2 separate regions of the Homo sapiens genome follow, and region 2 is linked to region 1. The links are contacts of gene promoters, found by promoter capture Hi-C in human tissues and cell types (Jung and others, 2019). All regions are on one chromosome and are shown on one strand. Each heading gives the region's core, a stretch centred on a gene start or on the middle of the fragment in contact. The rest is flanking DNA. Distances are from core to core; before and after follow the strand shown. Region 1 holds the start of KRT78 (keratin 78). Region 2 overlaps KRT7 (keratin 7).

Region 1 (6,957 bases), core at 4,458-6,957:
AACCCGGAGGCAGAGGTTGTAGTGAGCCAAGATCACGCCACTGTACTCCAGCCTGGGCAGTGGAGTAAGACTCTGTCTCAAAAAAAAGAGAGAGAGAGAGAAAGAAAAAGAAAAGAAATGAGGCTGGGTGCAGTGGCTCACACCTGTAATCCTACCACTTTGGGAGGCCAAGGCGGGCAGATCACTTGAGGTCAGGAGTTTGAGACCAGCCTGGCCAACATGGTGAAACCCCGTCCCTACTGAAAATGCAAAAATTAGCCAAGCATGGTGGCACATGCCTGTAATTCCAGCTACTCAAGAGGCTGAGGCAGGAGAATCCCTTGAACCCGGAGGCAGAGGTTGCAGTAAGCCAAGATCACGCCACTGAACTCCAACCTGGGCAGTGGAGTAAGACTCTGTCTCAAAAAAAAAAAAAAAAAGAAAAAGAAAAAGAAAAGAAAAGGAAAAGATAAGAAAAGAGAAAACAGATGAATTAACCATCTCCCCAAGGGGCTGAAAGCAAGATGTACACCTGGACATAGGCTACAATGCTGTCAGCCCCCTCCCCGATGCCAGGGGAGTGCGATCCAGTGGCACTATCCCACGAAAGCCAACATGTGGCTAGAAGTCACAGCAGGAAGGCTGAATTCACCCTAGATGGGGCTTGAAGTTCTCTTCTCCCCAAATTATCCAAAGCTCCAGCCAGTTATCAAGGTCCTCGACACAAAACCACTGGCAACCCAACTGGAGAGAGAAGCTAGGAACTGGGAAGTGAGTTGAAGGCACAAAGGCAATGAGAGGACATTTGGGGGTCTCTGGGAATCTACCTGCTTCTTGAGGTTCTCAGTCTGACTCTGCAGCCTCTGAATCTCTTGGTGTAGCTGAGAGATCTGGACTTTCGTTTCCTGCATCCTGTCCCCATGAAGCTGGGCAGACACCTGAAGTTCCTGGTACTGAGAGGGGAACAGAGGGGACACCATTAGTTGAGAGGACTGCCACCTTTGACCATCTCCTCATGTTTGAAAAGCCACCTCTCACTCCTTATTTGGAGTGTGGGTTAAACGCCTGAGCCAGGACACAGTGGGATATACTTCCAGAAGTCCAAGCTTATCTCCCACGGTTCCTCTGCATCGCCTCCCTCCTGGAGGGGAAATGGCCCTGCCCACCCAGCCCCAGACCTTCAGGGAGGTAACTGGAACTGCCCCAATGGGATCGAGGTGGATGACCACCCTAGAGTTTGGGCATGGAGACCTAGCCATTTCCAGCATGGTGCTGCCCCCCAGGTCCCACCACCTTGGTCTGGTACAAGGCCTCAGCCTCAGCCTTGCTGCTCCGGGCGATCTCCTCGTACCGGGCGCGGACCTCAGTGATGATGCTGCTGAAGTCCAGGTAGCGGTTGTTGTCCATGGACAGCACCACAGACGTGTCGCTGGCCTGGGTCTGGAGCTGGCCCAGCTCCTGCAGGGAAGACAGACTCAGTGTCCACTCACCCCCAGCTCCTTCTCCCCTTGAAGCCTAGGATGGTTGAGCAGGATGATGAATTTCTGCTTACATGCCATGACCCCCATTCATCCCAGGTGGCTTTGAGTATGCCCTGCTCACCATGGGACTCGATCTCCTCATTCAAAAATGAGAGCCATAGGAGGTGGTCTCTGAAGTCTCTTGCAGCTTGGACATTAATGGAAAATGGCCTGCAAGGCCCAAAATCACCCAGCCCCCATCACTCCTCAGGCCTCTTTTTTTTTTCTTCTTCTTCTTTTTTTTTTTTAAGATGGAGTCTTACTCTGTTGCCCAGGCTGGAGTGCAGTGGTGTGATCTCGGCTCACTGTAACCTCTGCCTTCCAGGTTCAAGCCATTCTTCTCCCTCAGCCTCCCTAGTAGCTGGGATTACAAGCACCTGCCACCAAGCCTGGCTAATTTTTGTGTTTTTGTAGCGACAGCGTTTCACTAGGCTGGTCTCGAACTCCTGACCTCAGGTGATCCACCTGCCTCAGCCTCCCAAAGTGCTGGGATTATAGGCATGAGCCACCGTGCCCAGCCATCTTCAGACCTCTTATCATACTCCTCTCCCTCTCGCTCCTACTACTCTGGCCACACCGACCTTCCTGCATTTCCTCAGACAGCACACTCCCGCTGTGGGCTGCAGCCACTGCCTGGAATCCCAGAAACCCACCTGCGTGGTGACCTTCCTCACCTCCTCCAAATCTTTGCTCAGATTTTATCTCCTAAATAAGGCCTACCCTGGCCACATGATTTGAAGTTGGCACCTGCTCCATGTTCCCAATCCTCCTTTCTCTGTTCTCATTTTCCTTTTTTCCATTGCGTTTATCACCTTCTTCCATACTATATGATTTCCTTATTTACTAAGTCTGTTGCTTATTGTCTGTCTCCCAATAGAAAGCAAACTTAGTCGGGCGTGGTGGCTCATGCCTGTAATCCCAGCACTTTGGGAGGCCGAGGCGGGTGGATCATGAGGTCAGGAGTTCAAGACCAGCCTAGCTAAGATGGTGAAACCCCATCTCTACTAAAAATACAAAAATTAGCTGACCGCAGTGGCGGGTGCCTGTAATCCCACCTACTTGGGAAGCTGAGGCAGAGAATTGCTTGAAGCCGGGAGGCAGAGGTTGCAGTGAGCTGAGATTGCACCACTGCACTCCAGCCTGGGCAACTGAGCAAGATTCCATCTCAAAAAAAAAAAAAAGCAATTTTTTTATCTGTAGTGATTTTTTTCTGGTTATTCATTGATGTATCCCCAGGACCTAGCAATTCACATAGTAAGTTTTCAGTAATTGGTTGTCAAGTGACTGAATGACCCAGAATCTAAGCCACCCTAACAGACTTCCCCTCTTGGCCATTCTCCTCATGGCCACAGGAAGCCTGCCCACCCAGTCCTCTCTCTTGGCTGCAGCCTGCCCTTTGGTTGAGCCTCACTTCTTCATTCAGATGCTTCAAGAAGTAGAGGTACTCTCTCAGAGCCTCCAGCTTGCCCTCCAACTCCATCTTGCTCAGGAAAACCCCATCCACATCCTGGAGACAAGGGGAGAGAGAACACGTAACCCCCTCTTCCTCTTTGGGGTCCCTACTCTGGCTCAGGAATTCTGTTCATGCACTGCTCAACACCCATCCACCATGCCTCCCAAGACCCCCTCCTTCCTCCTCCAGCCCCACTCTGTCCTGCTCTCTCCTTTGCCCAACATTGACCCAACATCACCTTCAGGAAGTCTTCCCTGATTAATCACAACCAGTTCTGCTTCTTCCTCTCCCTCCCCGCCCTCTCCTGCAGTGACATCAAGAGCTCGTCAAGCAGTCCTTTAGTCAGATCTTGCCTTGGGGCCCCTGTGTCTAGGCAGATGTCCCATTTTCCCAGGGGACCCCTGCAGGTAGAGTGATAGCCTGTCCTAAATCAGGACCTCCCACCTTTTCCCTCCCAGCCTAGGACTAGGCTCCGTGCACAGTGGATGCTCAGAACGTAAGTGGAGCACTGGCCCCCACCCTCACCTTCTTGAGGACCACAAAGTCGTTCTCAAGTGTGGCACGCCTGTGGGCCTCCTCCTCATACCTGCCAAATAAGTAGAGAAGGATGCAGTTTGAGGCTCCACGGTCAGAGCTCATGCCCCCATGTCCGAGCATGACCTCCCTGAAAAGGACTCCTTGCCTTAGAATGCCCCCAAACAAGACAATAACCAGCCCTTCTCTCCTTTCCTGCCACGTCCTAGCTATGTACCTGTGCCACCCTTTCAGCCCATGTCCTTTTGATGACGACAGCCACATTGTTTCAGTTTATAAGGCACATTCGAATACCTTTTCCCACTTGCTACTCACACCCATCACTTGAGGTAGGCAGTTTGGGTTTTATCAGAGAGATTAGATGATTTGACCAAGACCCCACAGATGACTAGGTAGACAAAGCAGAGCCAGCCCAGGTCTTCTGACCCCAATCCAGGGCTCCTTCCAGAACCTTCCTTCCTCCACCTCACATCCCATTATCCCAATAGCCCTGGGAGGCCAGAAGGGCAGGTGACATTTCCCAAGTTTACAGAAGGGAAACCAAGTCCGGGAGAGATGAGATGCCTTGCCCAGGATGCACAGCTACCCCTCACTCACAGTTGCCCCAACCCAAGCCCCCTATTAGTCCAGGGCTCTCTCCACTCCACCAGGTGACCTAGGCGTGGAGCCCAGAACCACAGCCCATCTGTGAATTGTGTCACAGGCCTGGGGACAGCCCCACTAAATTGATTCCCTTCCCTCTTTGGAACCAGAGAACATCTGAATCACTTTAGCCCACAGCCCGCTGAACAGGAATTTCTCAAGAATAAAAAAAGCCACTGGGGCATTGTTTAAATAAGCCCTTCCCAGCCTTGACCGGAAACATGGGCCCTTGTAGCTGGGGCATGTAGGACACCGGTCTCCCTGCCTTTCCTCCAAGGTTCTCCAGATCTGCTTGGGGACTGCGGGACACCTCGTTTACCTGTAGCAGGTGGGCACCTGAGAGCCTGGGGAATGGGGACGCGGAGGGGTAGAGGGGAGGCCAGTCATGTGCCTCTGGGTGCTCAGTATGTGGGACACCTCCTGGCTGACAGACCCAAACTGAGTCATCCCAGACCCCGCCCACATGGCATGGGGAAATTTCAGTGTGCCTACTTGGACTTATACTCCTCCTCCTGGTCCCGGCAGGCCTTCAACTCAGCATCCAGAGCCCCTCGTTCTCCCTGGAGCTGCTCCAGCTGCTTCCTGAGCTGATCCAGGCAGGCCTCAAAGACAGGCTCCAGGCCCTGCTGGCTGCCACTCAACCCCTGTTGCTGCAGCAGATGCCACTTCGTCTCCAGGACCTTGTTCTGCTGCTCCAGGAACCGCACCTGCAGCAAAAGCAGAGGATCCCTGAGGCTCCTGTGGGACTCCCTGTGCACAGCCTCTGGAAAGTAAAGCCTGAGGGACCCTCCCATCAGCCTCACCTTTCCCCTGTCCCCCTGCCCAACCTGGGCAGGGGAAGCCTCATGACCTTCCATGACACTCTGAACACAACAAAATGACTGGACTGACTAATGGGGCAGGGCCTTCCCCCCGCTGGCTGGCAGTTCTCTGTCCCTGAGCCCCAATCATGGAACAACAGGGCCTCAGCATAGCCAGAGAGAGTCCAGTTAGTCCACAGGAGGGACTTCTTTGCTGCAGAAGTTATTAGAAAAGTGGTAGAAGGAGGCCAAACTTCCCATTTCCAAGTCCATCAAGAGCAGCTCCTCCAAGGGAGGCACAGAGACAGGGGCTTGGCTGAGTTGACCCTCACCTTGTCAATGAAGGAAGCAAACTGGTTGTTGAGGGTTCTGATCTCCTGGGTCTCCTGCGTCCGCACCACCTGGAACTGGGGATCGATCTCAATCTTCAGTGGGGTCAGCAGATTCTGGTTGATGGTCACTTCTTGGATGCCCCCCGGAGGGCACAGGGAGAGCCCAGGCCCACCACTCCACTCCCCAAACCGCACCCCCAGCCTACCCCCTGACCCCCAGGTACTCCCACGAGAGCCTTCCAGGCACCCCCCAAAGGAATTAAGGCTCCTGCTGCTGAAGCCGCCCCTGCTGCTGAAGCCTCCCCTGCTGCGGCCCCTTGAGCGAGCAGAACAGGCTGAGCGAGCGCTGAAGCCCCTCTGGGCCCGGCATGGGGAGAGAGACATGGCAGAGACAGACAGTCACGCAGCTGCAGACGGACAGACAGATTGTCAAGGTGTGTGAGTTTCTGCCCTGGGGCCCCAGCACGAGACTTTTATCCACTCCCGTACCTGGGCTGGGCCTTGGAGAGCAAGATACTCTTGACCTGACTGTGTCTGTCACTTGGCTCCAGCTGACTTACTCTGACGTGCCTGGAGAATAAGTGTCCGGCACGTGCAGAGCCAAGGGAGAAGGAAACCCAGACCCTGCCCTCAGAGCTCCCAGGCTGTTGGAGAAATAGGCATGCCCAAAGACAAGGAAGCAGGCAGGAGACTGGGATGTCAGTGCTGAGGGACAGGGAGGGATGGCCGGAGCAAAGTCACTGAGGCCCTCAGGGAAGGCTTCCTGAAGGAGACAGGGAAGCGAGAGGAGGTTGAAGAGGAAAGAACGCTAGAAGGGGTTCAGAGGAAGCATCAGAGTGCCCTGGATTCTCAAGGGAGAATCTGCCTCAAGGAGTTGGAGAAGGAAGGCACTTGCAGCGCCACAAAGAGAGGAGGTTAGTGGAGGTGTTATTGCCATAGTTGGCTAAAAGACACTCCAGGATTTGGAAATGAAACAGAAAAACAGGGTTTCCAAGTCCTTCCTCTTGCCCAACCCAGCAATCATCCATGAGGCACCACCCACTGAAATCAGGCATCTCCATCCAGGATCGCATGGGACAGCACGTTTCTGACCCAGCCTGTGGCTCTGCTCCTTCCACAAGCACTTGGGGCCAGGCCCATCCACCTGCCATCAGGCTCCGCTTCCTGAGGTTACAAATCAGAGCCACCCAGGCTCTGAAATGAAATGTGCATTTAGGGCCGGGCACAGTGGCTCACGCCTGTAATCCCAGCACTTTGGAAGACCGAGGTGGGTGGGTCACTGGAGGTCAGGAGTTTGAGACCAGCCTGACCAACATGGTGAAACCCCATCTCTACTAAAAATACAAAAATTGGCCAGGTGTGATGGTGCACACCTGTAATCCCAGCTACATATGAGGCTGAGGCAGGAGAATTGCTTGAACCCAGGAGGCAGAGGTTGAGCAGTGAGCCAAGATCGTACCACTGCACTCCAGCCTGGGCAACAGAGTGAGACTCCATCTCAAAAAAAAAAGCAAGGTGCATTTAGAAAATACTCCTAAGCTGGGAACGGTGGCTCACGCTTGTAATCCCAGCACTTTGGGAGGCCTAGGCGGGTGGATCACGAAGTCAGGAGATCGAGACCATCCTGGCTAACACGGTAAAACCCCGTCTCTTAAAAATACAAAAAATTAGCCAGGCGTGGTGGCAGGCACCTGTAA
Region 2 (6,957 bases), core at 3,096-5,595, 610 kb before region 1:
CCATCTAGGTCTTTAGGAACTGGTCAAGTGCTAGGTTGGGGCTTCAGTTGCTCTGGGATACCAGTGCTGATGCCCACCATGCAGTCTGGAGGGTCAGCAGGGCAAGCTTCATGCTGTGACCATGTACAGCAGCTGTAGAAACTGTTTCTGGGTAGGGCAGTAGTATTTGGCCTGTGGGTTGGACAGGGCAGGCCTGCTTCCACCCCTACTAAATGTTCCCTGTACTGAGGACATGGTCTCCCTCTGCCCCATCTTGCCCCAACCCCCAGGATGTGGATGCTGCCTACATGAGCAAGGTGGAGCTGGAGGCCAAGGTGGATGCCCTGAATGATGAGATCAACTTCCTCAGGACCCTCAATGAGACGGTGAGGACCATGGAGCTGGGTGACATGTCTTATCCTACCCATTCTAACCAGGGAGCCATCTGGTCCAGCCCCCCGCCTCTGTGTCAGTCCAGATATGTGTCAGTGTGAGAAACAAACTCATCCGTCCAAACCCAAAGAATGGACTCAGAGACCTGGAGAACAGCGAAAGTGAGATTTTAATGACAGTCTTGCAAGATGGGTGTCTGATGGGCAGGCATGCCCAGCACAGCCACAACAAGCAATTTATCCTCTAGTGCACAGGTCCCTCCCTCCGTTCCTCACAGGCTGAGTACTATGGGGTCACGATCTTCCTGGACGTTGTCTATTGGTTGTTGGGTTGGGGCTTTAGGTGTTTTTTTTTAGGTTGTCTTGCTGCATTTTATTGCAGCCTACAATGCATTGCAATCCTAGTCAGCTCAAGGGCTCTTTAAGTATTTGACTTATGACCTAAGTAGCTGGGCAGGCTGATAAGAACAGAAAAAGTGAGCCATTTTGCAGGCTAGAAAACCTTCATTTTAGACTAAACTTCTTTGGTTCAGGTGAGGGCAAGAGAAGCTGGGGGCTGACAAGCAGGCACTGGCTATTCAAGCAAAGGGCTAGTATATCCTATTTCTTCTGTAGTTTGCTGACCTAAGCCAATTTAAAGCACTTTGTCTTGGAAATGGACCATTATATACATTATTTCCTTCATCAGGGGTTGCGAGGATTTATCCTGCCCTTTATCCCTTCTGGACTCAGGAATTCAGGACAGGCTAAGGATTCGGGAGGAGGTGGGGGTGAGTCAATCAGGATTGACCTTGGAGAGACATGGGATGATCGCAGCATTTCTAAGGAAGGGGGATTGGGTGGGACTGGAAGGAACCAGGAGGAGGTCAGGGGACTCCAGGTTGTGACAGGGTTCAAAGGTGGGCTAGGTAGGGCCAGCAGGGGAGCCCAAGTCAGGAGAGACTGGATTGCCTGAGCATTTACTCCCAGAGGGGCTGGGTGGGTAGCTGCCTGCCAACTCACCACTCTAATGTCCTCCCTTCCCTTCTTATTCTCTCCCTCTCACCCTTGTCCTCCGGGGTTTCCAGCTCTTTTTCTTCAAGGGGATTTAAAAATCTCTCCACTCTCATCAGTGTGAGTCTCTGGCCTTAGGCAGAAGGTAGGGTGGCCAGTCACCTGGCAGAGGCTAGGCTGGGCATAATTAGCTTGTGAGGTTAATTACAAACCAGTTCTTCAGCCTAGTCTTTGCCTGAACGTCCAGTCTCCACCAGCCCCTCAGAGCAAATGTCCACAGATTCATTAATTTCAGGGGAAGTTTCTTTGAGGCTTGCTTCAGGCACTTCTAATCTCAGGTCTTCCTGGGTCTATCACATGGTTTATTTATGTGTAAACACACATGTGTACACACACACACACACACACACACATATATATAAAGTTTTCTTTTCATGGTGAAAGTTTAGTTTATTTATGTGTAAACACACCTGTGTGTATATATATAAAGTTGTTTTCATGGTGAAAGTAATACATACTCATTGCAAAACAACCAAAAAATTAAGTAAATCGTAAATTGAAAATGGATTACTTGGCCAGGCGTGGTGGCTCATGCCTGTAATCCCAGTAGTTTGGGAGGCCGAGGTGAGTGGATCACCTGATGTCAGGAGTTGGAGACCAGCCTGGCCAACATGGTGAAACCCCGTGTCTACTAAAAATACAAAAATTAGCCAGGCATGGTGGCGGGTGCCTGTAATCCCAGCTACACGGGAGGCTGAGACAGGAGAACTGGTTGAACCTGGAAGGTGGAGGTTGCAGTGAGCCAAGATTGTGCCACTGTACTCCAGCTTGGGTGACAGAGCAAAACTCTGTCTCAAAAAAAAAGAAAAAAAAAAGAAAATGGATTACTTATACCCAATGCTACCATCTTTGTGTCTACCTTTCCAGACTTTTCTGTGCTTACATATACATAAAGATATAGAAATATACATTTTCAATAAAAATAGCATCATGCTTTATTTTAATTTTTATTATTATACTTTAAGTTCTAGGGTACATGTGCACAACGTGCAGGTTTGATACATAGGCATACATGTGCCATGTTGGTGTGCTGCACCCATCAACTTGTCATTTACATTAGGTATTTCTCCTAATGCTATCACTCCCCCCTCCCCCCACGCCCCCGACAGGCCCCGGTGTGTGATGTTCCCCGCCCTGTGCCCAAGTGATGTCATTGTTCAATTCCCACCTATGAGTGAGAACGCATCATGCTTTTTTTAATGCAACAGTATACCATGGGCATATTCCCCACAGGTAGTTGGAGCCATATCATCGGTGTACAGACTGCAGAGTATTCTGTAGCATGGTGGAATATGATAATTTCATCCATTCCCCATGGCCTCCCTCACAATAGAGCTCGTGCACCTACAGAACCTCACAGTGAGAAGTCACCACAGCGCACCACACTGTCCCTTTCCTTATCCCCTTTAACCCTGCCAGATTCTCGTTTGAGACACTGCTAATGGGCCCTCAGGGAGCCAAGGGTGGGCAGAATGAAGTAACTTAATGTGTGCTGGGTCTGGGCCCCCTTGCTGCCTGGTGACTCAGCCCACTCCCAGCTGTTCTCTCTTTTCTTTCCTTTGTGAGTGGGGAATCCCAGGGTGGGCGTGGGCATAGGATCCTGCCCTAAGTCCTGATGTCCCGTCTGGTCCCTACAGGAGTTGACAGAGCTGCAGTCCCAGATCTCCGACACATCTGTGGTGCTGTCCATGGACAACAGTCGCTCCCTGGACCTGGACGGCATCATCGCTGAGGTCAAGGCGCAGTATGAGGAGATGGCCAAATGCAGCCGGGCTGAGGCTGAAGCCTGGTACCAGACCAAGGTGTGAGGCCACCAGGGGCGTATTTCCTCCTGCCAGGGTCCTTGGTGGCAGCTTCCCTTACTCCTCAACTTGTCTCAAGCCTTCAGGGCCTGGGTCCCACTGTTCTGGCAGGCACCAGTGGTTTAAGTCTGTGGTGCTCAGCCCTGGAGAAAATCCCAAGATGGGAGGACAGGGCAGAGGAAATAGATATGGATTAATCATTATAATAGCTAAAATATGGCAAGTACTTACACAGTACTAGGCTCATGTAATTATTGACTCATGTAATCCACAGAACAGCCCTATTAGATAGGCATCATTATTACCCCCATTTTGTTTTATTTAATTTAATTTATTTTATTTCTATTTTTTGAGATGGAGTCTTGCTCTGTCACCCAGGCTGAAGTGCAGTGGTGCGATCTTGGCTCACTGCAACCTTTGCCTCCCTGGTTCATGTGATCCTCGTGCCTCAGCCTCCTGAGTAGCTGGGACTACAGGTGTGCACCACCATGCCTGGCTAATTTTTTTTGTATTTTGAGTAGAGACGAGGTTTCACCATGCTGGCCAGGCTGGTCTCAAACTCCTGACCTCAGGTGATCCACCTGCCTCGGCCTCCCAAAGTGCTGGGATTATAGGCGTGAGACACCGCACCCAGCCTATTACCCCCATTTAAAGATGAGGAAATTGAGGCACAGAGAGGTTAAGTAATTTGCCTAACTGCATACAGCTAGTAGATGGAAGAGCAGGGACTAAATCCTGAATGTGAGGGCCCTAGACCTGGGAGGCTTAATCATCACATCTACTTCATGGTGGCAGGACAGTTGATGGTGCAGGGGCTGAGGGAGCAGGAGTGGGTGCTGGGGTGAACCAGTGTTCCTGAAGAAGGGATCCCGAGGCAAGGATTGAGAGGTCTGCCCCTGCAGAGATAGAGAGTCATTCATGGTGCCTGGGTGAGAACACAAGTATGCCAACAAGAAGACCTGGGTTCAGGCCCTCGTTCCATCACTGATTGGCTGTGTGATCCCTGGGTGGTGCTTTCTCTTCTCCAAGACTCACTCTCCTCACCTGTGAAATGGGTGTTCTGGGTGTTGAATGGGTGCGAATCTCAAACTCTCAGTGATTCTCCAGCAGAAGGGCATGGTGGGAGTGGAAGAGCCCTGGGGTCCATGGGGATGGGACTGCGGAGCCTTGTCTGTCCTCCCTGCCTGGCTTGGAGGAGAATGAATCCCTTCCTCACACTGCTGTCTGGTCTCCTGGCATCGGGCAAAGGTTGATGGGAGTCAGACTGTCCTTCCCTGAAAATATAAGTTGGGAGGGGCCTTGGGTGGGGAGAGGGATGAGTTACCTGTACTCACTGCCCATCTCTCTGCCATAACTCTCTGTATGGCCCCTCCAGTTTGAGACCCTCCAGGCCCAGGCTGGGAAGCATGGGGACGACCTCCGGAATACCCGGAATGAGATTTCAGAGATGAACCGGGCCATCCAGAGGCTGCAGGCTGAGATCGACAACATCAAGAACCAGGTGGGACAAGTCCTCCTGGCTTCCCCTGCTACTTGGGGCATGCAGGGGTGGCCAGCTGAGGCCAAACTCAGGATGTGGAGCAGGAGGTTCCCATCTCCCGGCCAAAGCTGGTGCCACTGTCTCAGACCCCCTTGTGAGATCTCCAGCACAGAATGTTCTTGGCCAGGTCCTGGCATGGGCTGATGGGAGAAAGGTCCTGGATGTGCACAGAGCCTGTGGAGGGAGACTCAGGCTGGCTGGCCAGAAGAAAGCCACCACTGGTTCCACATTGATACTGAGCACTCTGCTTGCACCTGGTTCTGGCTGCAGGGCGCTGTCCCTGGGAGCTCATCATTCATTGCAGGGACAGAGGACAGCAGAAGACCTTATAATGACTCACATGGCCCTTTCCCACCCACTCCAACCTCACTTTCCACGATTCCCCTCACTCTGCTCTGGCCATGCTAACCTGCTTCCTGCATCTTGCATTTGCCAAGAATGGTCATGCTTCAGGGCCTTTGCACTTGGCGTTGCCTCCCCCTGGAATGTGGTTCTCCCAGCTCTGTCCATGGTTGTTGTTTTCTCCTCCCTGGGGTTTAGGAAAAGACCCCTTCTCAGAGACGGCACTCTCAAACACCAGCCCCTCTATCGGCAGCCTGTCTGAAGTTCTTTGAAGCCCCTGTCACTCTCTGAAATGTTCTGTCTTATTCATTAAGTGATTGATGGTCCCTACCTCCACTGGAATATAACAGATGCCTGGAGAGCAGGGACCCTGTCTGTCTGGTTCACTGCTCCTCTCTTCCAGCACCTGGCACATGGCAGGGGCACGGGTCTCAGATGAGAGACTGCCTGGGAGGATGAGCTTTGCTGGAAGCTGGGGTTGGAGGTGTTGATGGGGGAAGGGCCCCCAGCCCTGGCTGAGTAGTGTGTGGCCAGGGCAGCTCAGCCTGTGCAGGTGTCTGCAGTGGAGAGAGGGGGAGGGCACACATGTGGAAGCTTCGGAAAGCTGATTTCCAGATGAGCTGTGGGTGGTGGGGGGATGTGAGGGTGATTTACCCACAAATGTCCTCCCCTTGGAGCCCTGTGGGCCTGTTTACAGGAGGGCGGAGGCTGCCTTGGGGCACAGAGGCAGGGCCGTGAGTCACCCCATGAAGTGGGCCAGCTTCCAGGCCAGGAGGGGAAGCACAGAATAACAAATGGTGGTTTCCCAAACCCTGCAGCCTCTACTACATCCGGTTCTCCTCTCACACAACAGGGCGGATCCAGGCCTATAGCCAGGTGTCTACCACCACTGAGGGGCGTCATGGGGAGCTACAAGGGGTCTCCAGAGGCAGCGGGGATGGCGTTGGCTCTGGGGGCACCAGTGTGACAGGGCAGGGCACCGAGCTGTGGCCGAGGGGCAGAGTGTCAGAGGGCCTCCTGGGGAATGCTGTCTCTGGCAGAGAGGCAGACTGCCTCCACTGAGGGAAGAGGATCTGAGGATAGAGAATGGCCGGTAAGAAGGGAGAGAAGTCCTTGCCCAGGGGACAGGGATGGTGGTTTTCTGAGCTAAACAAGATGAGGCCTGGGACTATTCAGGCTCCTGGCAGTGGGGGCTGAGCCTAAAGCAGAGGGCACTCTAAGGCCAGGGAGAAAGTGGCAGCTGCTCCAGGCAGGCACAGGTCTGGAACCAGAGCATCCCTGACCAAACCCGGGGACTGTGAGTCATGCATCTCATGGCATCTGGGGGCATCTAGGAGGGTCTCTCTGCTCCAGGCCCTCCTATTCTGCGCCTGCTCTCAACTGGTTCCTATTTTATAGGTGGTTTCTGGTCTTTGTCAGCTGCCTGACATCTGGAGACTCAATTAAGATCCCATGGTCTTCGAGCTCCTGCAGCTGGGGGCTGGGGCTGGGGGACTGGGGGTTTGAAAATCATAATAGCATTCATTAAAAATGATCACAATAGCATTTATTAAGCACTTGCTGTGTGCTAGACATTGTGCCACGGACATCTTGTATATTATCTCATTTCATCCTCAAAATCTCCTGATGTTCTCTTAGAAAAGAGGGGACTTTGGCTTAGCAGGGTTGATTCATCCATGGTCACACAGCTAGTAAGTGGCAGAGCCAGAACTGGAACATAGGCGTTGGATATCCAAACCTATGTGTTTAACCCTTAGGATTCTCTGGTACTTGGGGGAGTAGGTGGTGCCAATGAAGCCACCTTAAGCAAGTTGCCCGGGTGCTCACTGCAGGATGGGCAGGCAGGAAG

Evidence for each region. Contacts are between HindIII fragments. The study calls those that stand out against the background at their distance.
Region 2: a contact is called between a fragment that was not itself captured here and the fragment with the promoter of KRT78 in region 1, in 1 of the 25 tissues and cell types used here (spleen).

What each region holds. Positions count from the first base shown.
Region 1 is chr12:52,843,287-52,850,243 of GRCh38, forward strand. KRT78 (keratin 78) reads right to left here and starts at 5,708. Exons shown (of 9, transcript NM_173352.4): 1 at 5,261-5,708; 2 at 4,621-4,835; 3 at 3,478-3,538; 4 at 2,911-3,006; 5 at 1,273-1,437; 6 at 807-932. The coding sequence starts at 5,644. The HindIII fragment of the contact is 16,568 bases long and covers 1-6,957 here.
Region 2 is chr12:52,238,411-52,245,367 of GRCh38, forward strand. KRT7 (keratin 7) reads left to right here. Exons shown (of 9, transcript NM_005556.4): 4 at 270-365; 5 at 3,062-3,226; 6 at 4,602-4,727. It overlaps KRT7-AS (KRT7 antisense RNA 1), which reads right to left. Exons shown (of 2, transcript NR_146274.1): 2 at 6,633-6,957. Among named protein-coding and RNA genes, the nearest start is that of KRT7-AS, 5.6 kb to the right of the region's middle. RefSeq lists enhancers at 4,431-5,406, 5,800-6,229, 6,280-6,429. The HindIII fragment of the contact is 8,834 bases long and covers 1-6,957 here.